Regions from separate parts of the Homo sapiens genome. Here all the other regions are linked to region 1. Evidence: promoter capture Hi-C in 16 types of primary human blood cells and fetal thymus (Javierre and others, 2016). All regions are on one chromosome and are shown on one strand. Each heading gives the region's core, a stretch centred on a gene start or on the middle of the fragment in contact. The rest is flanking DNA. Distances are from core to core; before and after follow the strand shown. Region 1 holds the start of SMIM3 (small integral membrane protein 3). Region 2 overlaps GM2A (ganglioside GM2 activator). Region 3 overlaps TCOF1 (treacle ribosome biogenesis factor 1). Region 4 has its middle 6.7 kb from the start of RPS14. Region 5 overlaps NDST1-AS1 (NDST1 antisense RNA 1). Region 6 has its middle 5.1 kb from the start of NDST1.

The links. The method cuts DNA at HindIII sites, captures the fragments that hold promoters and counts their contacts. A CHiCAGO score of 5 or more calls a contact.
Region 2: a fragment that was not itself captured here is called in contact with the fragment with the promoter of SMIM3 in region 1 in 1 of 17 cell types (neutrophils); the score reaches 5.1 in neutrophils.
Region 3: a contact is called between a fragment that was not itself captured here and the fragment with the promoter of SMIM3 in region 1, in 2 of 17 cell types (activated CD4 T cells and total CD4 T cells). The highest score is 7.0, in activated CD4 T cells.
Region 4: a fragment that was not itself captured here is called in contact with the fragment with the promoter of SMIM3 in region 1 in 10 of 17 cell types (naive CD4 T cells, naive CD8 T cells, total CD4 T cells and 7 more); the score reaches 15.3 in naive CD4 T cells.
Region 5: a contact is called between a fragment that was not itself captured here and the fragment with the promoter of SMIM3 in region 1, in 2 of 17 cell types (megakaryocytes and M2 macrophages). The highest score is 5.0, in megakaryocytes.
Region 6: a contact is called between a fragment that was not itself captured here and the fragment with the promoter of SMIM3 in region 1, in 1 of 17 cell types (megakaryocytes). The highest score is 6.6, in megakaryocytes.

The regions. Positions count from the first base shown.
Region 1 is chr5:150,777,089-150,780,864 of GRCh38, reverse strand. It overlaps SMIM3 (small integral membrane protein 3), which reads right to left and starts at 2,108. Exons shown (of 2, transcript NM_032947.5): 1 at 1,893-2,108. It overlaps LOC124901110, which reads left to right and starts at 464. Exons shown (of 2, transcript XM_047417995.1): 1 at 464-958; 2 at 1,314-3,776. The coding sequence starts at 1,744. The coding sequence ends at 2,385. RefSeq lists an enhancer at 725-1,586 and a silencer at 2,024-2,213. The HindIII fragment of the contact is 6,508 bases long and covers 1-3,738 here.
Region 2 is chr5:151,259,256-151,263,031 of GRCh38, reverse strand. GM2A (ganglioside GM2 activator) reads right to left here. Exons shown (of 4, transcript NM_000405.5): 2 at 3,116-3,277. Among named protein-coding and RNA genes, the nearest start is that of GM2A, 8.0 kb to the right of the region's middle. The HindIII fragment of the contact is 6,835 bases long and covers 1-3,776 here.
Region 3 is chr5:150,359,403-150,363,178 of GRCh38, reverse strand. It overlaps TCOF1 (treacle ribosome biogenesis factor 1), which reads right to left. Exons shown (of 27, transcript NM_001371623.1): 2 at 1,968-2,023. Among named protein-coding and RNA genes, the nearest start is that of TCOF1, 3.6 kb to the right of the region's middle. RefSeq lists a silencer at 411-550. The HindIII fragment of the contact is 1,216 bases long and covers 1,467-2,682 here.
Region 4 is chr5:150,454,587-150,458,362 of GRCh38, reverse strand. No RefSeq gene overlaps it. Among named protein-coding and RNA genes, the nearest start is that of RPS14, 6.7 kb to the right of the region's middle. The HindIII fragment of the contact is 6,015 bases long and covers 1-3,776 here.
Region 5 is chr5:150,477,666-150,481,441 of GRCh38, reverse strand. The region is part of intron 2 of NDST1-AS1 (NDST1 antisense RNA 1); the gene reads left to right. Among named protein-coding and RNA genes, the nearest start is that of NDST1-AS1, 6.4 kb to the left of the region's middle. The HindIII fragment of the contact is 7,537 bases long and covers 1-3,776 here.
Region 6 is chr5:150,501,097-150,504,872 of GRCh38, reverse strand. It overlaps a transcript of NDST1 not described here. Among named protein-coding and RNA genes, the nearest start is that of NDST1, 5.1 kb to the left of the region's middle. RefSeq lists enhancers at 2,282-2,840, 2,841-3,401. The HindIII fragment of the contact is 3,713 bases long and covers 1-3,681 here.

The sequences.
Region 1 (3,776 bases), core at 859-3,358:
TGTGTTTGTGAGTACACGTGCCCATTTTTTATACCACCGCCACACCCAACCAAGATATTCTCTTTCCTTGGAGGTATTTCCTTTGCATGTTTCAATCCATAGAGAAGAAATGGAGGCACAACGTTTAAAGGATTGGCGTATGGCTGAGAAAGCATCTGAGGCTGTGACTGGCCCTTATCCCCTTGGTCTGTCACCCCCAAGGGCCCAGGATCTGACCTGACCACAGGCCCCCAGAGTCTCTCATTTGTTTTGCATCTCTAACACCTCACCGCGACTCAGTGGTTCTCTGGCTGTTCTCTGGGACTCCCCAGATCTTTAGTGTCATGGAGCCACAGTTCTGAGGTTCGGAGAGGTCACTTGTGGGAGAGTTCATGAAGCATGACTTGTAACCCCCACAGCATGATTCACAGTCCCAGGACAGCTGGGAACAGGAGGTCCCGGCTGGAGCAGGAAAACACTTTTTAGTTTTTTTCAGTTGTCACTGCAGAAGCACATGATGTCCTAAAGCTCAGCTGTGCTGCTTTGCGTGTGTCTAGATGGCTGCTGTGCGGCCTGCATAAACCAAAGAGCATGTCATGCTCAACCACAGACAAACATCTGTTCCACTCCCATGTCTTCATTTTACAGATAGGGAAGACAAGGGCCAGAGAGGGGAAATGCCTCCATTAGGGTAATTCAGAGGGTCTCCTAACCCCCAGAGTACCTGTTCTTCCCGCTCCCACCTCCACCTAATTCAGGCATCCCCAATCCTTCCAAACTATGTGGCCACTGCAGTAGCAGCACGCATCATAGCAGATGTTCAAGGAATCTCTGATACTTGTGTGATTGCGCAGCCTTCACCACCACACCCTGGAGCTTTGAGGACCTTAGTATTCACCACAGATGAACCGGAGACTCCTCAGCCCCCAGGTGCAGCAGGATTCCAGCTGGTCCAGAAGAAACAAGTGCAGCTGCATAAGTAAGAGCCCAGCCTGGCCCTCAATCAGAATAACAGCCCCTGAGGTTTGTTTCAATTTGTGGGGGGGGCGGGGGGGGTTACACCTTTCATCCTTTCACTCAGTACATATGTATGGAGCACCTACTGTTAGCCAGGCCCTGCTCCAAGAGCTGAGAATGCCTCAGAGATGACGATAGACAGGCAGTCCCTACCCTCAAGAAACTGGCATGGGGGAGACTAGGGAGCAAAACAACCAGCAACTGGAACAACTACGTCCTCAGGAAAGGGACAGCTAACCAGCAGGAGGGAGCTTGAAGGAAGCCTTCTCTCCAAGATACTTTGCTCATGTCCTTTCTCCTTTGCTTTCTGCACGCAGAAAATGTTTTCCCAATTTCACTGATGGAAAAACAAGGATGGTGAAGCAGTTAGTGACAGAACCAGGGCTGGAACCCGCCACTCCTGACTCCAAACTCCTGGCGCCTTCTACACGGGGCCTCGAGAAAAGCGGGACAGGTAAGTGCAAAGACCCAAACCCAGCGCAGCGCCCAAGCAGGTGCTCAGGCCCGGGCGCTGAACCCTGACGCTGGGCCTGGAGAGCCAGGAGGTGGCAGTCTGCCCGAGGAGGAGGCTTCCCGAGAAGGCAAGGGCAGCGGACCCGGAGAGAAGCCAGTCTCCGAGTGGGGCTGGGGTTCGCCCACCCAAGCTCCGCCTCCCCCAGGCCCAAAATTCTGTGCACTAGGAGGCTCGAACTTAAGAGCTGACAGCAGGAGAAAAAGGAGGGGGTGAGGGCAAGAAATACAAAAGTGATGAAAAGGGAGAAATGGGGAGGAGAGACCGGACATAAAGAAGAACGTTGGGAGCCCGGGGAAAGGGGCCGCACTAGAGGTAGGTCGCGAATCCGAAGAGCTCCGCTCTGCCAGAGCCCCACAAACAATCCCCCGGTGGCCCCACTCACCCCAGATGGCGGCGAGTCTGCGGAAAGTTCCTGGGTCAGGGATGGCTCGGTGCTTCTCAGGGTCCCCAGGACTGCACGGGATCTGGCAGCTGGAAGCGACCCCCAGGCCTGGAACCTCAGCCCTAGGCAGCTCCTGGAACGTGCCCCGGCTCCTCCGAGCCCCGGGAGGCGGGAGAGCGCAGGAGCGGCCAGGACGCGCTGCTGGCTCTGGAATGCGCGGCTGCTGGGGACCGCCCCCGGAACGCCCGGTCCCGGGGCCCCGGCAACTCCAGCTCAGCTCCTCCTCCAGCGTCCCCTGCGGGCTGCGTTCGGGGAGAAAGGAACCTGCGAGAGAAGGGAGAGACCAGGGCGTCTCGGGCTCCCCTTCCACGTTGCCACACACTCGCCGCGTAGCCGTGGACATGTCGCTTGGCTTCTGAGGGTCTCCCCTCTCTGGATTGTAAACCGAGAGGGTTGGCCTAAAATGTGTCCTCCACGACCTTTCCAGCTATAGAGTAGACATGGGAAAGAAAGCCTAGCAAGTAGGTTTGGACAGAGGAGCCGGGACTCAGATCCTGCTTTGCGATGTCCGAAGTGTAGGGTCCTTCGGAGGCTTTGCCACTCTGTTTCATTCTCTGTAAAGTGGGAAAGGTAACACCTGTCTCCCAGTCCTGTTGTGAGGATTGGTTTAGAGGACCAGTGTGAAGCTGGTTGGTTCTCTGCCATAACATGACTTGGAGCATCCTGTTTATTTTGTGATAACAATGAAATAGCCCAATCCAAGGTGATCAAGAGCCCATTAGAATCCAGCATCTGAGAGGCTTCCCACGCCACTGTGGGTGGCCCAGCTTCCACGCAGGACAATGCCAATTCTGTAATCTTCTGCCCCCTCTATGTCATCCATGGAGTGAGGGGGGACTCCCGTCCCATGTTGGCACCCACACTTTTTAATTCACAGTGGTTTTCTTTAATCTTACTCTTCTGAAAAAAAGGAGCACAAGCCTTGACTATCAGTGAGACCTTGAGCAGTCTTGGAGCCCAGTAGTGTTTTGGAGGGTTTGGAAAGAGCCATACTGCCTTCCCCAGGCCTAAATTTGATATGGTGTGGGCCCCGAACTTAGAACTTACTCCATGCTGTTTCCTCTGATTCAGGGATGAGGTCAGCAGAAATGACCTCTAAATCATCATTATCACACGCCAGTTTCTTAAGGGAAGGACAGTGAGGATGAAGGGGATTCACATGAGAAATGATTTGAGAAAAACCCTAAGGGCTGTCACCCAACAACATGTTTTATTCAAAAGAGATAGTGTGGGAACCTAAAAACAAGGACAACCCAATTCTGAATAGTTTAATACAAAGCTCTCATTTAATAGTAAAAAAAGATTGAAGGAGGACAATCTTTTTTTTTTTTTTTTTTTTTTTTGAGACGGAGTCTCGCTCTGTCGCCCAGGCTGGAGTGCAGTGGCATGATCTCGGCTCACTGCAACAGGAGGACAATCTTAATATGACATTTTCCCTGGTTAGTGAAGGGGATGAGAGTTCCTTTGGGTGGACAACTGGTAACTCCATGTGCCCTGCTGTGAACATTGGCTTCCCTCTGGGACAAGGCAGAAGCTCAGGCCTGGAGCCAGCTGAGTCCTAGTCTCCCTTTCCATTTAGCAATTTATTAGTATCTCTTTAATATCGACTTGCCCTGGGACCCTAAAAGCAAGCCAGAAATAAAGTATGAATCCCCACAGGAGCATACCATGTTAAGTCTGCTGCCTAGGCTAGACTGATTTTGCAAAGAGAGCACTGAAGGGAAGAATAATGGATGCTGTGTTGGGATGCAGGAGTGGGGGAAATAGTCAATTTCAGCAACAAGCTTTTGTTACAGCAAAAGCCAGAAAACAGCTCACAACTTC
Region 2 (3,776 bases), core at 608-3,107, 480 kb before region 1:
GTGACAGTAAAGACAGAGGAGATTATGTAGGCCCAAATTTATGAAAGGTAATAAAGCAATGGAAAAGGAGAATAGGGAGTAAAACCCATCTTAATGGTTTGTGAAGAAGCCAGGAAAAGCAGGCTGAGGGCAGAAGAGCGGGTTTGCCAGCTTCTTGTTTCCAAGTCAGCTGCATAGCCCCCTCCCTGGAAACACCAGTGGCTGCATGGTGATGGCAGCAGAGGGAGCATGGCGGACGGCCTACCAGGAGAGCCCACACTCCAGATCAGCAGAGGGAGCACACAAATAAATGTGTGTGACCCTGGCAGAGAAACAGTCCAGTGTCCATACATAGGGAATGATTCCATCCCTTGGCCCAGATCCAAGGGTACAGGGCTTGACCCCCTATCACTTGAGGAACAGTAATGGAAACACAATGACTCTGCTAGGAAAAGGCTTGGTAGGAGGTGCAGGGGAGCTGAAAGCTGCCACATATCCAGGACTTGTGTCTGGGTCAAGAGACTGCAGGATAAGACAGATACTAATCGAAATGTTCACAAGATATAAAATGTACTGAGCATGTCCTGGGTGCCAGGCCCTGTGCAAAGCACTTTCCACATGATTTTCTAACTCAGGTATTGCTCAAGGAAAGCCCATAACGTAGGAGCTGTGATTAAGACAGGTCTAAGGATAATGATAGAAACACAGAATCCAAATCAGGAATCTTCTAAATAATTAACACAAAACTGGTACTAGAATAGATCTGGATCAGGAACAGACTGAAGGGCATAGAGGAGCATCATATAAAGGTAGCAATTTTAGCTAGAGAGGAAAGGACCATATTAAATGGTGTTGCAATGGATATATGAAAAGTCTTCATTGTTTTCTAAGAAAATATAAAAACATACACCCCTAAAATAGTCAATGGATGGAAACAAACAGGTTATTCCCAAAGTAAATACAAAAGGCAAATAAACTTATGAATAGACATCTACGCTCACTAGGAATGATGCAGGTTTATTCAAACATTGGGAGGCACTTTGGCAAAATGTATCAAAAGACCTAAAAAGTGTGTATCTAGAGAATCAGAAAATTATAAAAAGATGTACTATAAGAATAATTTCTACAAAGGTGGTTACTACAGCAAAACAAAAAACAAACAAACAAAAAAAACCCTCTGGCCAGGTACAGTGGCTCAAGCCTATAATCCCAGCACTTTGGGAGGCTGAGGCAGGTGGATTGCCTGAGGTCAGGAGTTCAAGACCAGCCTGGATAACATGGTGAAACCCCATCTCTACTAAAAATACAAAAAGTAGCTGGGCATGGTGGCAGGTGTCTGTAATCCCAGCACTTTGGGAGGCCGAGGCAGGCACATTGCCTGAGGTCAGGAGTTCAAGACCAGCCTGGCCAACATGGTGAAACCCCATCTCTACTAAAAATACAAAAATTAGTGGGGCGCAATGGCAGGTGCCTGTAATCCCAGCACTTTGGGAGGCTGAGACAGGAGAATCGCTTGAACCCGGGAAGTGGAGGTTGCAGGGAGCTGAGATTGCGCTACTGCACTCCAGCCTAGGCAACAGAGTAAGAACCTGTCTCAAAACAAACAAATAAACAAACAAACAAATAAAAACTACCCTGGAAACAAACTAAATGTTCAACAATAGACTTGTTATATAAATTATGAAAGATCCACATCAGAATATTTCTGCCATTAAAAATGATTGGGTGGGCTGAGCAAGGTGGCTCACGCCTATAATCCCAACATTTTGAGAGTCTGAGGCAGGAGGATTGCTTGAACTCAGGAGTTTGAGACCAGCCTGGGCAACACAGGGAGGCTCCGTCTCCATAAAAAATAAAAAAATTAGGTAAGCATGGTGACATGAACCTGTGGTCCCAGCTACTCAGGAGGCTGAGGTGGGAGGATCCCTTAAGCCCAGGAGGTCAAGGCTGCAGTAAGCCATGATCACACTACTGCACTCCAGCCTGAGCAACAGAGTGACACACTGTCTCTAAAATTACAATACATTAAAATAATAAAATAATGATTGGATAAAAAAAAATTGAATAAGTAGAGCCACCTAATCCTTGGAAAGATATGGACATATAGTATGAGGCAAAAAAAATAGCAAGTATAATAGCACATATCATATAATCCCATGAGTATAAGTGTGTATATATTTACAAACACATAAAAATTCTGATGGGATATATAAAGAGCAAACACTGACTATCTCTAGGATTTAGATTACTGGAGGACATTTACAATGAGCACTGCCTATTATCATACATATCCATTAAAAATAAATATGTGTGTTATGTATGTAATTGTATGGGGGAAAGTTGCAAAGAATATCCTATAAGATGTTAAAAGTGCTTATCCCTTATCACTAGGTAGTGAGATTTCAAGTGATTTATTTTATTTATTTATTTATTTTGGGACAGAGTTTCACTCTGTCACCCAGGCTGGAGTGCAGTGGTGCGATCCTGGCTTTCTGCAACCTCTGCCTCTTGGGTTCCAGCAATTCTCCTACCTCAGCCTCCTGAGTAGCTAGGATTACAGGCACATGCCACCACGCCCAGCTAATTTTTGTACTTTTAGTAGAGATGGGGTTTCACTATGTTGGCCAGGCTGGTCTCAAACTCCTGACCTCAAAAGATCCACCCACCTCAGCCTCCCAAAGTGTTGGGATTACAGGCATGAGCCACCACACCTGGCCTATTTTATTTATTTTTTGACCACTTGTGTTTTCTAAAGTGACTATATATTACTGGCTAATTGGTATATCAATTTTATAATTAACAACAAAACCAAATTGGCCAACCAGAGCTGTCAGACAATAATGAGCAGTTGGCCACCAGGCCCAGAGAAGGCCAGGACGCTTCTGCCAGGTGCAAGGTATCCGTCACTCCTGCCCTCACCAGGAAGTTGCTGGCGCTGACATCAGAGATTCCTTTCAATCTTATGATCCTGAGATTCCATGAACCTGTGAAAGAGTGTCTGAATCTACATGTCCTGTACTATTCTCTGGGAATCCAGGATTCTGAAATTCTTCACAGTTCCCCAAGCATACATGCCCCAGTACCCCTGCTGGCCAGACCCTCGCACCTCCCCTTCTCCACCCACCCCCAGGCTCACCTTCAGAGGAGAACTCAGGGGGACACTGGTGCTGCCCATGACACTGAGGGTCACATTTCCAGGAACGATGATGGGGTCAGGCTCCAGAGTCAGGCTTCTGATCACCGCAGGGTCCTTCCCTTCATCACAGTTATCCCAGGAAAAGCTACTGAGCTGGGATGGCTGGGGACAATCAGGCAGCAAGGAAGGAGAAGAAGAAAAAGGTTGACAAAAGAAACTATCACAGATCACAGGAAAAATGAGCTCCTGGCAGAGTGACCTTGGGTGAGGCACCCCCGTCCCTGAGCCTCATCTATGAGACTCCATACCTATGAAGCTGGGATAACACTTATCCTACTCATTTTATAGGCAGGACTAAACTAAAAGACTCAAAAGACATAATCTCCCAAAAGTGTATTGTAAACTATAAGGCAGGATATGATAGACCTGGAACTTCCAAACAGGAGACTGACCTAATTGGCCTTTGGTGGGCACCTTCTCTGACTTCCCACCTCCCTGCTGCCCACTCCTCTCCAGCCAGCCTTGGAATCCCAGCAGAGGGCAAGCTCCTGGAGGATTCACCTCTGCAGCCCACACCCAGGACCTTGTTCATGTCACACCCCGTGCCCAACCCAGAGCCAGGAACAATGGGAAACACAAAACACAATGGGAAATCTAACAG
Region 3 (3,776 bases), core at 825-3,324, 420 kb after region 1:
CCCAGCTATATCAAGAATATTGCTGGGTTGTAGTAGATGCTTAATAAATACTGAGGCGGGTGCAGGAAGTCGGGGAGCCTCCAACCGGTAGTTTTAGCACTTTATATGGAGCACTGTGTCTAACCCTCACAATGCAATGAGATAATTGCCATCATTATTTTCATTTTATAGGTGAAGACAGACTCAGGGAGGCCAAGAAATCCACTCAAGGTCATACATACAGCTAGTTGCTGGGTTTGAACTCTGCAGGGAATTGCTAGGCTAGGCTGCCTTTCGTGGGTTTGAGGTCCTTGTCCCCCTCACCCATAGAAGGGGCCAGTGGCAGGGAAGAGTGTGCAGAGTAGCTCACTGAAGCAGTTTTTTGGGGGAAGGAAGTACTACGAATAACACCCACTCACCTGGGCAAGTCAGGGTGAGGAAGTGTGGGCTGTGCCCTGTGCTCTAAGCTCTCCTTAGCAGCAGAGGACTGAGGGTTGGCAGGGTTTTCAAAGACCTTAGCTCTCCACCAGAGGCTGTAATCCCTTCCACACCATTTTTGCCTTTGTTTACACACCTCTAATGACAGGGAGCCCACCACTTCCACCTAGCCCACCTCATTTTTAGATAGCTCTGATGTCATTATATTCAGAAGCTGAAACCTGTCTTCCTGAAGCAGGTACATTTGGGGCCCACTTCTGTCTCCGGGGCCTCAGAGAACGCACTATTCTTGGTCCTCAAAGATGTGCAGTGGTCCCTCACACCCCTCTCCTGCCTCCTTTCCATCCAAGGCAATTCAGTACTCTCTACCATTCCTCATGGGATATGTCTGCATGTCCTTCACTCCCTTAGTCAGCTGTGGTCAGGCCAGTGCATGAAGAGAACACAATTACTCTCTCCATTTTCCAACCATTCCTCTGTTGATATATCCTTGGATGATTCCCCCTTCCTTGAAGAGTACATAAATTTTACATGTTTAAAAGGCATCTCACACTCAACATGTCATTGAAATCTTTCCCCTCCAAACTGAGTTCCCTTCAAGCTCTATGCATGGGTACACAAGTTAGATGTGGAGTCAATAAGATACTTCCTCTCCCACCCATCCACAGGCCCTGGTTTCATCCCTATGATTCTTGGGAATCCACTTTCTACCCTGTTCTCCCTGTGTCAAGCCCCATCAGCTCTTGCCTGGACGATGGTGACCATGGCCCCACCAGTCTCACCATGGTGCAGAGCAATCTCCTCACTTTTTCACCCTACCATGGCCCCACTGCTCTTGGATAAAGACAAAATTCCTCACCATGGATAACCAGCCCATGCATGGCTATCCATGCGATGACCTAGCCCCATCTGTACTGTCCACCAGCCACAGGACTTAGCATTAGCAATTTCCACTGGCAGGTACACTCCACCTGCCACTCTCTACCCACTGCATAGTTCACTCCTCCAATTCCTATAGCTCTCAAGTCAAAGATCACCTCAGGGAAGCTTCCCCTGGACCCCCAGATGAAGCCAGACTTACCCATTTATGTGGCTGTGGCAACAGATTCCTCTCTTTTGTAATCCTTACTACCACTGTAATTTAACATTCATTTGTTTCATTCTTTGACTTATGCCTACCTCCTTGGCTACAATGTCAGCTGCAGGAAAGAAGGAACCATGTCTGTCTCACTTGTGACAATATTTGCATACTAAGTAAGAACAGGACTTGGCTTTCAGGAGGTGCTCAATATACGTTTGCTGAGCAACTGACAAGCTGGTGAGAAGCTCTTGTTCTTAAGAGATCACAGCTCTCAATGTCCCCTCCCACTACCAGATATCCACACAGAAATACCCATCCATGTGATGTGAGCTGGCTTTCTGGAGGCAACAATGGTGTCCACAGTGGGCTATGGGGACAGATCTTAGACCAGATAGGTATCCCAGCTTATTCCAAGCTGAGTTGCTTGGGGTGTCCGTCCCTACTCCACCCTATAGGCCCCACCACTTACTGTTGCCAGTGTGTATAGATGTCCAGAAGGGTTACGGGCTGAGCCAGGAAACACTTCTGCAGAGAGGTAAAGAGAAAGCCACAATTAATCCCCAGCACAGTAAGGATCCTTCTTGGGCCCAGATCTCCCCAAACTCATGACTTGTATAGACAGGTGGTTCAGAAGAGGGTCTTTTTGGCTGGGCATGGTGGCTCATACCTGTAATCTCAGCACTTTGGGAGGCTGAGGCAGGAAGATCACTTGAGCCCAGGAGTTCAAGACCAGTCTGGGCAACATAGTGAGACTGTCTCTATAAAAAAATTTAAAAATTAGCTGAGAATGGTGGCATGCACTGGTGGTCCCGGCTACTCAGGAGGCTGAGGTGGGAGGATCACTTGAGCCCAGGATATCGAGGCTGCAGTGAGCCATGCTTGTGCCACCGCACTCCAGCCTGGGCAACAGAGCAAGACCCTTTCTTTAAAAAAAAAAAAAAAAAAAAAGAGGGTCTTTTTGCTCTGGGAAGTATGTCTGCTTGGCCCTGCCAGTTCTGTCCCAAACCTTCCAGAGACAAGAAGAACAACCAATCCCAACTAAAACCTTTTTAGACAACCCCTTTGAAAGGCCAGAGGTGGAATGTTCCAAGCTAGCATTCATCCAGCTCCCAGCCTCTCTGGCACTATCCATGCCTAGAGGCCATGAGACAGGGTTTTCCCCACCTTTGACCTTTAAAAAAGCTTTCAAAGACGTGGCCAGCCAATCTTCCCAAAGCACGAATCACAGCCCAGACACCTGAGGCATCCAGGTGGCATGACCACAGTCTACTAGTCTGCTGGGAGAAGACTGGGCCCAAATGGTACCAGTCCCTTGGTGGAAGCAGAGGGAACCAGGTGGAATCCAGGCCTTTGGAGCAGAGGCCAGAGGGCCCAATGTCTCTGTAAATGTCAATAAGCCAGGATATCAAGTACTCTAATGAGGCTAAGCAATGTGGGGCACGGGTGGACTGAACTAATCTCGTCACGTCTTCGAACTTCAGATTTCTTCTTAACATGGGGACAACAGCGATACCTACCTTGCAGGCTGCTATCTGGTTTGAACAAGACCATCTGTCAGTGCCCAGCAGTGAGCCGGTAACACTAAGATTTCAAGAGTCAGTTTCCCTCTGCTCCACCTCAGGCAAAGTGTCCTCCTTGCTGTCCTCAAATGTGTCAGGCCACCCTGCCTCTAACGCGGCCTTGCTATTCTTCTTGTCTGGAATGTTCTCTCCCCTGTTAACTACACAGCTCACTCCCTCATTTCCTTCAGGTCTCTGCCCAAATGACACCTTCTCAATGAGACTTCCTTGACTACCCTACTTATAATCGAAGTCTGACATCCCTTATCCCCCTTGCCTGCCTTTTATAGCAAGCACCAACTATCATTGGATATACTATATCATTAACTTATTAAACTTTTTCTATTTGTCACCTGTCTGCTCCTACTAGAATGTGTGCTCCATGACGGCAGGATATTTTGCTCCAATGAAGATGGGTACTATCTCTTGCTCCCCTTATCTGTGAAGTACCATAGCTGCGGTAGGAAGAGCAAGTGAGGTTCAGAGAAACTGGGAAAAGCATACATAACGTCTTAGGGCCCATCACCCTTTAGTCCCTCCAGGAGGTTCTGAGAGCAAGCATTAGGAGCAGAGCCTACACCACAGGGCAAAGGGATCTGACTACTTAGGATACTGTCTCACCAGTTCAAAACTCTCCATTGGTTTACCACTGCTCTTCCAAGGAAGATCAAACTGCCCACCAGACCACTCCAGCCAGCCCCTGCCTCCATCTCCCCAGG
Region 4 (3,776 bases), core at 834-3,333, 320 kb after region 1:
TTTTCTCCCACCCTCTTCTTCCTGTCCTGGCTGTCTCCTACTCCCATTTTGGGCCCTCCAGCAAGGCCCCTGAGCAAGCCAGAGCCCTCCGTATCCCCCGTTCCTTACTTTGTCCTTGTTTCTTGCCCATATTCCCTGCTAGACAAAGCCCCTTGGCAGCAGGCCGTGACACGGTCACTGTGTGGCGAGTGCTGAGATGACAGGTCCTGGGGCACACAGGGGCTCCCATCAGTTGCTCGCAGACCGCGTGTGAGTCCTGTGAGCACGGGGAGCAGGTGAATTACAGCCCTGGAGGACGAAGCCTGCCGGTCTCTAGAGGGGCATTGCTACAGAGGGAGCCATCTCCAGGCCTTTTGTAGCCCCTCCTCCCCTGGACCCTGGAGGGTGTGCACCTGGCCTAATCCCCAACACACACACCGCCGCTCTCCCTTGTGTGCCACACTTACACACGCAGACTAGCGCTCATGTGTGTTCTGGGGCTCAGACCAGCAATAGACCCATGACTCCACGACAGCTTCACAGCAGCCAACACTTTTGAGAAGGTCCTCCCTCCAAGTCCCAGGACCACCTGGGCCACAGTTGGTGTCTGATTCCTGGCTGTGTGTCCTGGTGAGCAAACTCACCCTCTCTGAGCCACAGCTTCTTCCCACCCTTCCTCTGTTGCATTTGCAAACTACCCTTCAAGGGGAGGAGGGGATAGAGCTCCTGGACAAATGACAGTATGAGCTGCTGCCGAGAATGGGGAGCACGGGGCCTTCCAGGTTGAGCTTGAGGACCCAGGAAAGGGCTTGGCTTCTGCTGCTGCAGGCTAATTCCTTGCTCTTCCTTCATCCAATCAACAGATATTTACAAAACACCTGTACCTGAGGTTACACGAATTGGGCTCTGGAGTCAGACTGCTTGGGCCCAGATCCTGGTGCCCCACTTAGAGCTGTTGACCTTTTCCTTGTGTCCTCAGTTATAACGGGGGGGATTAAACATTTTCTACCTCCTGTGGTTGTTGAGAGGAAGCTGCTTGCTTTCCACTTCCGGAATGAGAACTTTCTCCAGCTCCTGCTGCCACATTTGCCCCCACCGTCTTCCTTCCTCATTAGCACCTGAGGTGAGCTGTCCACATTCCTGCCTAAAGCCGATGCCTCCACATGCGCAGCAGAGGCCTTTACCTATTGCCTGCTCAATGTCAGGGCTCCAGCATGTTTTTCCTTCACTTCTAGACTATTCCCAGCAGTGTTAAAATATCTGTTATTGATGCAACCTTAAAAAAGGAAAAAAAAGAACCTCTTGATCTCACATTCCCATTCTCCATCTGCCCCCTGGCACACCTCTGCAGAAAAACTCAAGAGCTGTCTATGAAGGAACTGGGCATGGTGGCTCACACCTGTAATCCCAGCATTTTGGAAGGCCGAGGTGGGAGGACCACTTGAGCCCAGGAGGTCAAGACCAACCTGGGCAACTTAGGGAGACTCAGTATTTAAAGAAAAATGAGGGCCAGGCACGGTGGCTCATGCCTGTAATCCTAGCACTTTGGGAGGCCGAGGCGGGCGAATCACTTGAGGTCAGGAATTCGAGACCAGCCTGGCCAACATGGTGAAACCTCATCTCTACTAAAAATACAAAAATTAGCCAGGTGTGTGGTGCAAACCTCTAATCCCAGCTATACGGAGGCTGAGGCATGAAAATCGCTTGAACCTGGGAGGCAGAGGTTGCACTCAAGCCTGGGCAACAGAGTGAGACTCTGTCTCAAAAATAACAAAATTTTAAAAATTAAAAAAATAATAATAATTGGGCCAGGCATGCTGGCTCACACCTGTAATCCCAGCACTTTGGGAGGCCAAGGTGGGCAGATCATGAGGTCAAGAAATTGAGACCATCCTGGCCAACATGGTGAAACCCCTTCTCTACTAAAAATACAAAAATTAGCTGGGTGTGGTGGCGTGTGCCTGTAATCCCAGCTACTCAGGAGGCTGAGGCACGGGAATTACTTGAACCCAGGAGGTGGAGATTGCAGTGAGCTGAGATCACACCACTGCACTCCAGCCTGGTAACAGAGAGGGACTCTATCTTAAAATAAATAAATAAATAAATAAATAAATAAATAAATATTGGAAAGAGCTGTCCAAGAGGTGTGGACCTCCCTCTCTTACTCCATTCACACTTTTGCACTCCCCCCACCCAGCCCCCCAATCAAGCTGCTGTTGTCAAAGTCCCCAGTATTTCATGTTGCTACATCCAACGGTCATCCTTAGCCCTTGTTATCCTTGACCTCTAAGCGCGATGGCACAGGTGCACACTCCCTTCTGCTTGATTGCATTTCTCCAGTTGCCTTCTGGATGTGCCCTCTCCTGGTCTCCTTTCATTTCTGTTCATGGCTTATTTTCTTGGCTCTCTCCTTCTCTTATCCCCATGCTCTCAACGCTCAGTCCTTAGCCTCTTCTTTATCTACACTCAGCCCCTTGGCGGGACTCGTGATTAAAATCAGTCTTGTGATTTTAAATACCATCTGTATGCTGGAGACTCCCAAATTTACACCTCCAGCCCTGATCCACTTCTCAATTCCAGATTCATCTATCTCAGCTGTCATTCTGACAGCTCCACTCGGGTATGTAATAAACAGCTCAAACTCAGGCCTACGAGTGGGCATCTGATCTTCCCCTAAAAACCTCCTCCACCCTCTGCCTTCCCTACCCCAGCTGAGGGCAACTCCATCCTTCTGGTTCCTCCAGCCATAAATGCTAGAATCATCTTTGACAACACTCTTTTCCCATGCCCCATGTCTAGTTTAATCTATCAGTAAATCCTGTTGGATCCATTTTCTCATTTTCTTTTCTTTTTCTTTTTTTTTTTTTTTTTTTTTGAGACAGAGTCTCACTCTGTCACCCAGGCTGGAGTGCAGTGGTACGATTTCAATCTCTGCCTCCTGGGTTCCAGCGATTCTCATGCCTCAGCCTCCCGAGTAGCTGGGAGTATGGGTGCGCGCTACCATGCCCAGATAATTTTTGTATTTTTTGTAGAGATGGGGTTTTGCCATGTTAGCTAGGCTGATCTCGAACTCCTGACCTCAATTGATCCACCCACCTTGGCCTCCCAAAGTGCTGGGATTATAGGCGTGAGCCACTGCACTCGGCCACCATTTTCACTTGATCTTAGCCAAAAGGCCGAGAAGCTATCGGACCCCATTTTCAAAATAAAACCAAATATTAGCGACTTCTTTCTACCTCTACTGATGCCTCCTCCGTCTTAGCTACCAATGTCTTTCACTTGCTTTATTGCAAAAGCCTCCTAACCGTCATCCCTGCTTCTACTTTTGCCCCTCACCCCACCCCACAGAGCACCCAGAGTGCACCTATTAAAACAGAAGTCAGTTCTGTCACCCTCTGCTTAAAACCTTCCAGTGGCTCCACTCAGTAAAAGCCAATGAACTCTAAGGCCTACATGGTCTACACAATCTCTCTCCACCCCCAGTGACCTCTCGTCACATCTCCTCACCTGCCTGCCCTGGCTCACCCCATACCAGCCACCCTGGCCTCCTTGCTGTTGCTAGAACATGCCAGTCATACTCCCGCCTCTAGGCTTTGCACATACTGCTCCCTCTGCCCATAACCATCTTCCCTTAGATACCTGCAAGGCTGGCTCCCTCTCCCACCTTGTGGGGAAAAGAGAGATCAGACCATTACTGTGTCTGTGTAGAAAGAAGTAGACATAAGAGACTCCATTTTGTTCTGTACTAAGAAAAATTTTTCTGCCTTGAGATGCTATTAATCTGTAACCCTACCCCC
Region 5 (3,776 bases), core at 732-3,231, 300 kb after region 1:
TTCTTTTTTTTTTTTTTCTTTTTGAGATGAAGTCTTGCTCTGTTGCCCAGGCTGGAGTGCAGAGCCGCGATCTTGGTTCACTGCAACCTCCACCTCCCGAGTTCAAGCAATTCTCTGCTTCAGCCTCCCGAGTAGCTGGGACTACAGGCACCTGCCACCATGCCCGGCTAATTTTTTTGTATCTTTAGTAGAGATGGGGTTTCACCATCTTAGCCAGGCTGGTCTTGAACTCCTTATCTTGTGATCCATCCGCCTCGGCCTCCCAAAGTGCTGGGATTACAGGTGTGAGTCACTGCACCTGGCCCTCTTCTTTATCACGACCACCCTAGTCCAAGCTGCACAGGTCTCTGCCGTGACCATGTTTACAGCCTCCTCACTGTGTCTCTCCCTCTCTCTGACTCTATTGCAACCTCATCATGACCATTTCCTAATTAAAACCACCAGAATGGCCCATAGTTCCCAGGATAAATTATTTGCCTTGTCTGCCTTATTGGCTCCACCGCCCTCCGCAGTATACTCCACCTTCCCCTTTACCTAATTTCCCATTTAGAGTAGGGATGCCATAATATGCCATGAAATTAGAGTTTAAAATAAAAAAATAAATAAAATAAAGTATGGACTCAAGCCAGGCTTCCTGGGTTTGAATCCTGACTCTGCCACATATAAACTATGTGACTTTGGGCCAGTTTTTCAAACTTTCTGTGGTCAGCCCTCCTCTCTAAAGTGTAGATAATAATAGTACAACATACCTCCCAGGGCTGTTGTGAGAATTACATAAGTTAAATATGTAAAGCCCTTAGTGTGTTATCTGTTATAGGACAAGCACTGTACAGTTACAGTTGTCCCTCAGTATCCATGGGGGAATGATTCCAGGACATTTCATGGATATCAAAATGTGTGGATATCCCTGATATAAAATGGCTTAATATTTGCATATAACCTATGTACATCCTCCCATATACTTTAAATCATCTCTAGATTACTTGTAATACCTAATACAATGTAAATTGTATGCAAAGAATTGCTATATTTTTTAGAGAATAATGACCCAAAAAAAGTCTGCACATGTTCAATACAGACAATTTTTTAAAATATGTTTTCGATCCATGGTCGGTCGAATCCACAGATTCAGAATCTGTGGGTATAGAGGGTTGACTGTTTAAATGTTAGATGAATGATTCATTGTGATCCTTTAGGTCTGAGATTTTTTTTTTTCTTTTTTTCTTTTTTCTTTTTTTCCTGCAGGCTGGAGTGCAGTGGTGTGATCACGGCTCCCTGCAGCCTTGACCTTCCAGGCTCAAGCAATCCTCCCACCTCAGCCTCCCAAGTAGCTCGGACTTCAGGCATATGCCACCAAGCCCAGCTAATTTTTAATTTTTTATAGAGACAGAGTTTCACCATGTTGCCCAGGCTGGTCTTGAACTCCTGAGCTCAAGCAATCTGCCTGTCTCTGCCTGCCTCGGCCTCCTAAAGTGCTGGGATTACCAGCCTTTTTTTTTTTTTTTTTTTTTTTTAAATGTGTCAGGCTCTCGCTGTGTCATCTGGGCTGAAGTACGGTGAGCAAGATCACAGCTTGCTGCAGCCTCAAACTCTTGCACTCAAGCAATCCTCCCATCTCAGCATCTCTAGTATCTGGGACCACAGGTACATGCCACCATCCCCAGCTATAAGTCTCCAATTAAACTTAATTTCCTCCTGGGCTTTTCCTCAGACCCTAATCCAAACCAGGCTTCCTGTATACACTTCACATCTCCCTCTTTATCACCCTCGTAGTTACCTGTCAGCTGCCACTCTCTCCCTCTAGATTGTGAGCTCCATGTGGGCAGGACTGTGTGTGTCTCAGACGCCCTGAGCCCCAGTGCCCCAAACAGCACCAGGCACATTGTAGGCAACCAGCACATACTTGCTGAATAAACAGATGAAATGAAAGTTCACAGGTTCATTATGAAACAGAGGACACTGTCTACCTAACAAAATGCCCATCAATGGTACTTCACTCTTCATTCAACAATTATTAGTGCCTCTTCTATAGTCTTCCTCACACCATCCTGGTGGCAGAAGGGAAATAGGGAGACACAGAGATGAATAAGATAGATGTGGTTCCTGTCCTCAAAGACTATACGGTCCACTGTGAGAAAGTGCCGTAATGCATAGGAAGATACAACGCAGTGTAACCACGTTGTTTTAGTCTGTAACAATTTTGTTTCCTAGGAGGCTGGGGCTGGTCTTTGGAACAATGAAAGTGAAAAGTAACTGAAAACAAACACTGTTGCCTACTTCAGCCAGCACCACCAGTTCCCAGCAAGCTACTTTTCTGTCTCTCTCCCTCCCTCCCTCCCTTCTTCCTTTCTTTCTTTTTTTAACAGGGTCTTGTTCTGTGGCCAAGGTTGGAGTGCAGTGGTGTGATCATGGCCCACTGCAGCCTGGACCTCCCAGGCTCAAGCAATCCTCCCACATCAGCCACCTGAGTAGCTGGAATTACAGGCACGTGCCACCTAATTTAAAAAGAAAAATTTTGCAGAGGCTGGGCACAGTGGCTGAGCTGAGGCAGGAGGATCACTTGAGCCCAGGAGTTCAAGACCAGCCTGGGTAACATAGGGAGATCCCGTCTCTACATACATACATACTCTAGGCATAGTGTTGTGCGCCTGTGGTCCCAGGTACTTGAGAGGCTGAGGTAGGAGGATCACTTGAGCCTGGAAGATCGAGGCTGCAGTGAGCCATGATGACATCACTGCACTCTAGCCTGGGTAACAGGGTGAGACCTTGTCTCTTAAAAAAAAAAGAATTGCCGGGTGCAGTGTCTAATGCCTATAATCCCAGAACTTTGGGAGGCCAAGGCGGGCGGATCACCTGAGGTCAGGAGTTCAAGACCAGCCTGGCCAACATGGTGAAACCTGGTCTCTACTAAAAATACAAAAATTAGCCAGGCATGGTGACGCACGTATGTAATCCCAGCTACTCGGGAGGCTGAGGCAAGAGAATCGCTTGAACCTGGGAGGCAGAGGTTGCGGTGAGCCGAGATTGCGCCACTGCACTCCAGCCTGGGTGACAGAGCAAGACTCCATCCGTTTCAAAAAAAAAAAAAAAAGTCCAGGCGCGGTGGCTCACGCCTGTAATCCCAGCTCTTTGGGAGGCCGAGGCGGGTGAATCACGAGGTCAGGAGTTCGAGACCAGCCTGGCCAACATGGTGAAACCCCATCTCTATTAAAAATACAAAAAAAAAAATTAGCCGGGCATGGTGGCGGGTGCCTGTAATCCCAGCTACTTGGGAGGCTGACGCAGGAGAATCGCTTGAACCTGGGAGGCGGAGGTTGCAGTGAGCTGAATTCACGCCACTGCACTCCAGCCTGGGCAACAAGAGCGAAACTCTGTCTCAAAAAAAAAAAAAAAAATTGTAGATACAGGGTCTCCCTATGTTGCCCAGGCTGGTCTTGAGCTCCCCAGCTCAAGTGATCCTCCCACCTTGGCCTCCCAAAGTGCTGAGATTATAGGCGTGAGCCACCACACCCGGCCAGTGCTGTCTTTAGAGCAGGAAGAGTAAGTCCTGTCCCAAGGGCATCCAGGCCACCACCTTTTTCTCTGCCTGGAAACCTATTTAGCCTTCAAGGTCCCACTTAAGTAGCGCTTGGTCCAGGAAACCTTCTTGCTCCTGCTAGAGGTCTGTATGGGCCCCAGTCACAGCTCTAGTGATTTTCTGGGAATATAGCAGGATTTGTCAAGGACAATCCAAATTTCATGTCATTTGCTTCTTTAAAAAAAAGAAAAGGTGATTC
Region 6 (3,776 bases), core at 576-3,075, 280 kb after region 1:
GTTCAACCAACTGATGGGCCTTTGGGACAATGATGACCATTTCTGAGAGTTTACTTGGTACCAGGTGTTGTACTCTGCATTTCACACGTTATCCCATTTAACTGTCCTGACATTCCTATCAACTAAGTATTGCTACTGTTTTCATTTCACAAAGACAGCAGCTCAGAAAAGTAGGGTATCATGCCCAAGGTCACCAGGCCAGGAAGGGGCAGAGCTGGCATCCAAACAGAGTTCAGACTGGCTCCAGAGCCTGGGGCCTAAACCTCATGCTGCACAGCTCTGTCGGGGAGACTCTGTCACGGGCAGTCAGTGGAGGGGACAGGAGGTAGACACATCAAATAGTGTGTGCATCTGGCAGATTATGGCAAGATTACGATAATGGAGGACAAACAAAGCTCTTAGGGAGCCCACAAGAGGGAGGTTGTTACAAACGTCCAGGCAGAAGGCCAGGAGTCTGTGCAGAGGACACGGAAACAGAGGGGAGTGGCAGATATGAGGGAGGCGGCCTTGTGAGACCTTGGTCAAGTGCCTTGCTCTCTCCAGACCTCAATTTACCAAGCTGTTAAGAAAAGTCCTTGGAACATCTCCAGAACCCCCACCATCCCTGAAGACTCCTGGGCCCTGGGAAAATAAGCAATGCCCGGTGACAGCCTGGCTATGAGCCCTGGGGACTCTGAAATGTCCTTGGCTGTCCTGGCACAGCTCAACTGCTGGGAAACAGGCTTGCAGAAGCAGAGGGCTTGGCTGGCATGCCTGGGCACCAGTGAAGTGTGGGTTCTGAAGGGGCCACATTCCACCCATTGTCAACCTCTCCACGGCTCTGCTGGAGCAAGCACCACCCAGCCTGGATGCAGACCAGAAACCGAGGTCACTCCCAGTGTCCAGTGGACTGCCACTCCAGGATCCGCCTGACCCATCAGCCCTGTCCAGAGCCCTACCTACACGTAAATTAAGTCCCTTTGATGTCACACACCCCCAAAGCCCTTCCCTCACATTTCCCTAAGGCTAGCCACTGGGATATAGAGACAAGGGGTCCTATAGGAGGCCTTAAGGAAAATGACCACCCCACCCCAAGGGACCTGTGCAAAACAGAGGCTGCCCATGCCAAGCCAATGAAGACCCTTGGCTAGGGAAAGGAAGATGGTCCATTAGGGCCGGCCCGCAGCTCTCACTCTGGAAGGTGGAAGGGGCTCTTGGACTTGCTAAGAAAACTCAGCCCAAGTCTCCACACTCACAGCTGCCCCATCAAACCACATGCCTGGCATGCTCCTATTCAATAACCTCCCACGGTTCCTCCCACTCACTAGGCCAAGCCCCTTACCTGCCTGCCTGCATGGGTCACTGTGAGCAGAGGCCTTGGTTTACTAGGTGTGCTATATGCCAGGGCCTTGCTAAGTGCTTTATTTTTTTGTTTGTTTATTTTTTTGAGACAGAATTTCACTCTTGTTGCCCAGGCTGGAGTGCAATGGCACAATCTCGGCTCACCACAAGCAACCTCCACCTCCCAGGTACAAATGATTCTCCTGCCCCAGCCTCCTGAGTAGCTGGGATTATAGGTGTGTGCCACCGTGTCTGGCTAATTTTGTATTTTTAGTAGAGACGGGGTTTCTCCATATTGGTCAGGCTGGTCTCGAACTCCTGACCTCAGGTGATCCACCAGCCTCAGCCTCCCAAAGTGCTGGGATTACAGGCACGAGTCACTGCACCTGGCACTAAGTGCTTTATGGACATTTCCTCATTCAACCTCACAGTAACCCTGTGAGGCAGGTACTATCACTGGCCCATTTCTACAGATGAGAAAATTGAGGCTCAGAGAGGTTATGTTACTCGTCCACAGTCTCACAGCCAAGCAGCAGGCAAGGATTCATGCCCATGCCTGCCTGACCCCAAGCCCAGATTCTTAACCACTGTGCCATGTGGCCTCCTCAAATGCTCCCTGCCACCCTCAGAACCCTGGGGCCACCTCAACCCTTCTCCATACAGGAGGGGAAACCAAGGCAAAGAGCTCTGTTGGTAGCAGAGCCAGGATAAGGCCTGAACCTCCACCCCACCCTTCCGCCCCCAACCTTGCCTACCCCAGAAGGAACTCCCTGTCAGGAGGCATGCCAGGCAGAAAGGCTAGGACCATCACAGTGACAATGAGGCTTCAGAATCTGCCTTTTTCCTCGTCCAAAAGGAAGAGAAAAGCAGAGGGAGGTTTGCAGAGAGAGAAAAGGACATGAAGGGACCAGGAAACATTTGTTCTCACAGAACAGACTCCTAGCATTGGGGCCCCTCACACAACCCCTGTTGCTGTTCCTGACAGCAACAGGAACATGCAGGACCCAGCACCCATGTGCACCATGCCCCTCCCCCACCAGCATAGGCCCCACCCCAGCACAGCTGACCCCAAATCTTAATTGCTCTTCCCAAACCTGCTTGTCCCACAGCCTTCTCTGTCTTGGTAAATAGCAATACTGTCCAACTGTCCTTCCAGTTCCTCAAGCCAGAAACCTTGCGGTCAACACTCTATTCTCACACCCCACATCTAATCCATCAGCAAATCCCATCAGCTCATCCTGCAAAATAAATCCAGAACCAACCCCTGGTTGCTCCCCCGCCGTCCCCACCCACCACTGACTCGCCCAACCTCTCTCGTGGCAAGACTGCAGCAGCCTCCCAGCTAGTCATCCTGCGTCCACCCTCACCCCCAGCAGTCTCTCTAAAATGTGTACCCAAACCAGTCAGTCCTCACATCGGGCCCGCCAGCAGCTTCCCCTCCACTCAGACTCAAACAACAAAGTCCTCCCCATGGCCAAGAGGCCCTACCTGTCTCCACATGCCCTCTGGCCCCTCTCCTCCACCATCCTCTCATTCTTTCAGCCCTGCCTCTGGCCACCCATGCCCTCCAGTTCCAGCGCCTTTGCCCTGCAGCTCCCTCTGCCTGGAAAATTCTTCCCTCAATTTCCCGTGGGCCACCCTCCCGGAGTCTACTGCCCCTCACCAGGGACCATCCTGACCACCTGACATGGCTGGGTCACTCCCCCAAATCACACTCTTGACCCACAAGCCAGTTTTATTTTTCTTCCAGGCACATCTCACCACCTGACAGTGAGCTTGTTGGGCTGTTCATTTCATCCCACCACTCAAATGTCAGCCCCACGTCCAAAACAGGGTCTCCATGTGTTTTGTTCACTGCTGCATCCCAGTTCTAGAAAAGAGCCTGGACCAAAGTAGATGTTTAATACAAATATACTGAATGAGGGACTATTGTCTCCCTCATCTGAACACACAACTTTAGGCTTACACAGCCCCTACAGACCAGGGGCTAGAGGCTGATACAAGACTCAACCTGGGCCAGCTAAAACCCTGAGGGTTTTCGCCTGGCCAGTTCCCAGCCAAATTCCCAGTCCTGTTCTAGTCCAATTGACTGCTTGGACCAATGGATGACAAGACTTTACGTTTGTCCCTGTCCGGTGCCTTTTCCTCTCCTTTTGGCCATGAGGGAGAACTTCTGAGTCCTGACAGTTGGGCTGCCAGAGGGAATGTGGACTGGACCGCCGCCACCCACCTTCATGGCCTTTCCAGCATCCATCCAAGGCTGCCTACCCCATGCTCCCAGCAAGAGGAGGCAGAGGAGGGAGGCTGGTGCTACGCTTGCCCTTTTCCTGTGGTCAGCAGGAGGACTATCAGAAGGAAGCTTTGTTCTCAGAATGAAGAGCACGAAGCCCAGTGTCAGGCGGAAGCGGGCACAGAGGCAGCTGTCCCATCAGATAGTTTAAGGAAAGACAAAACAA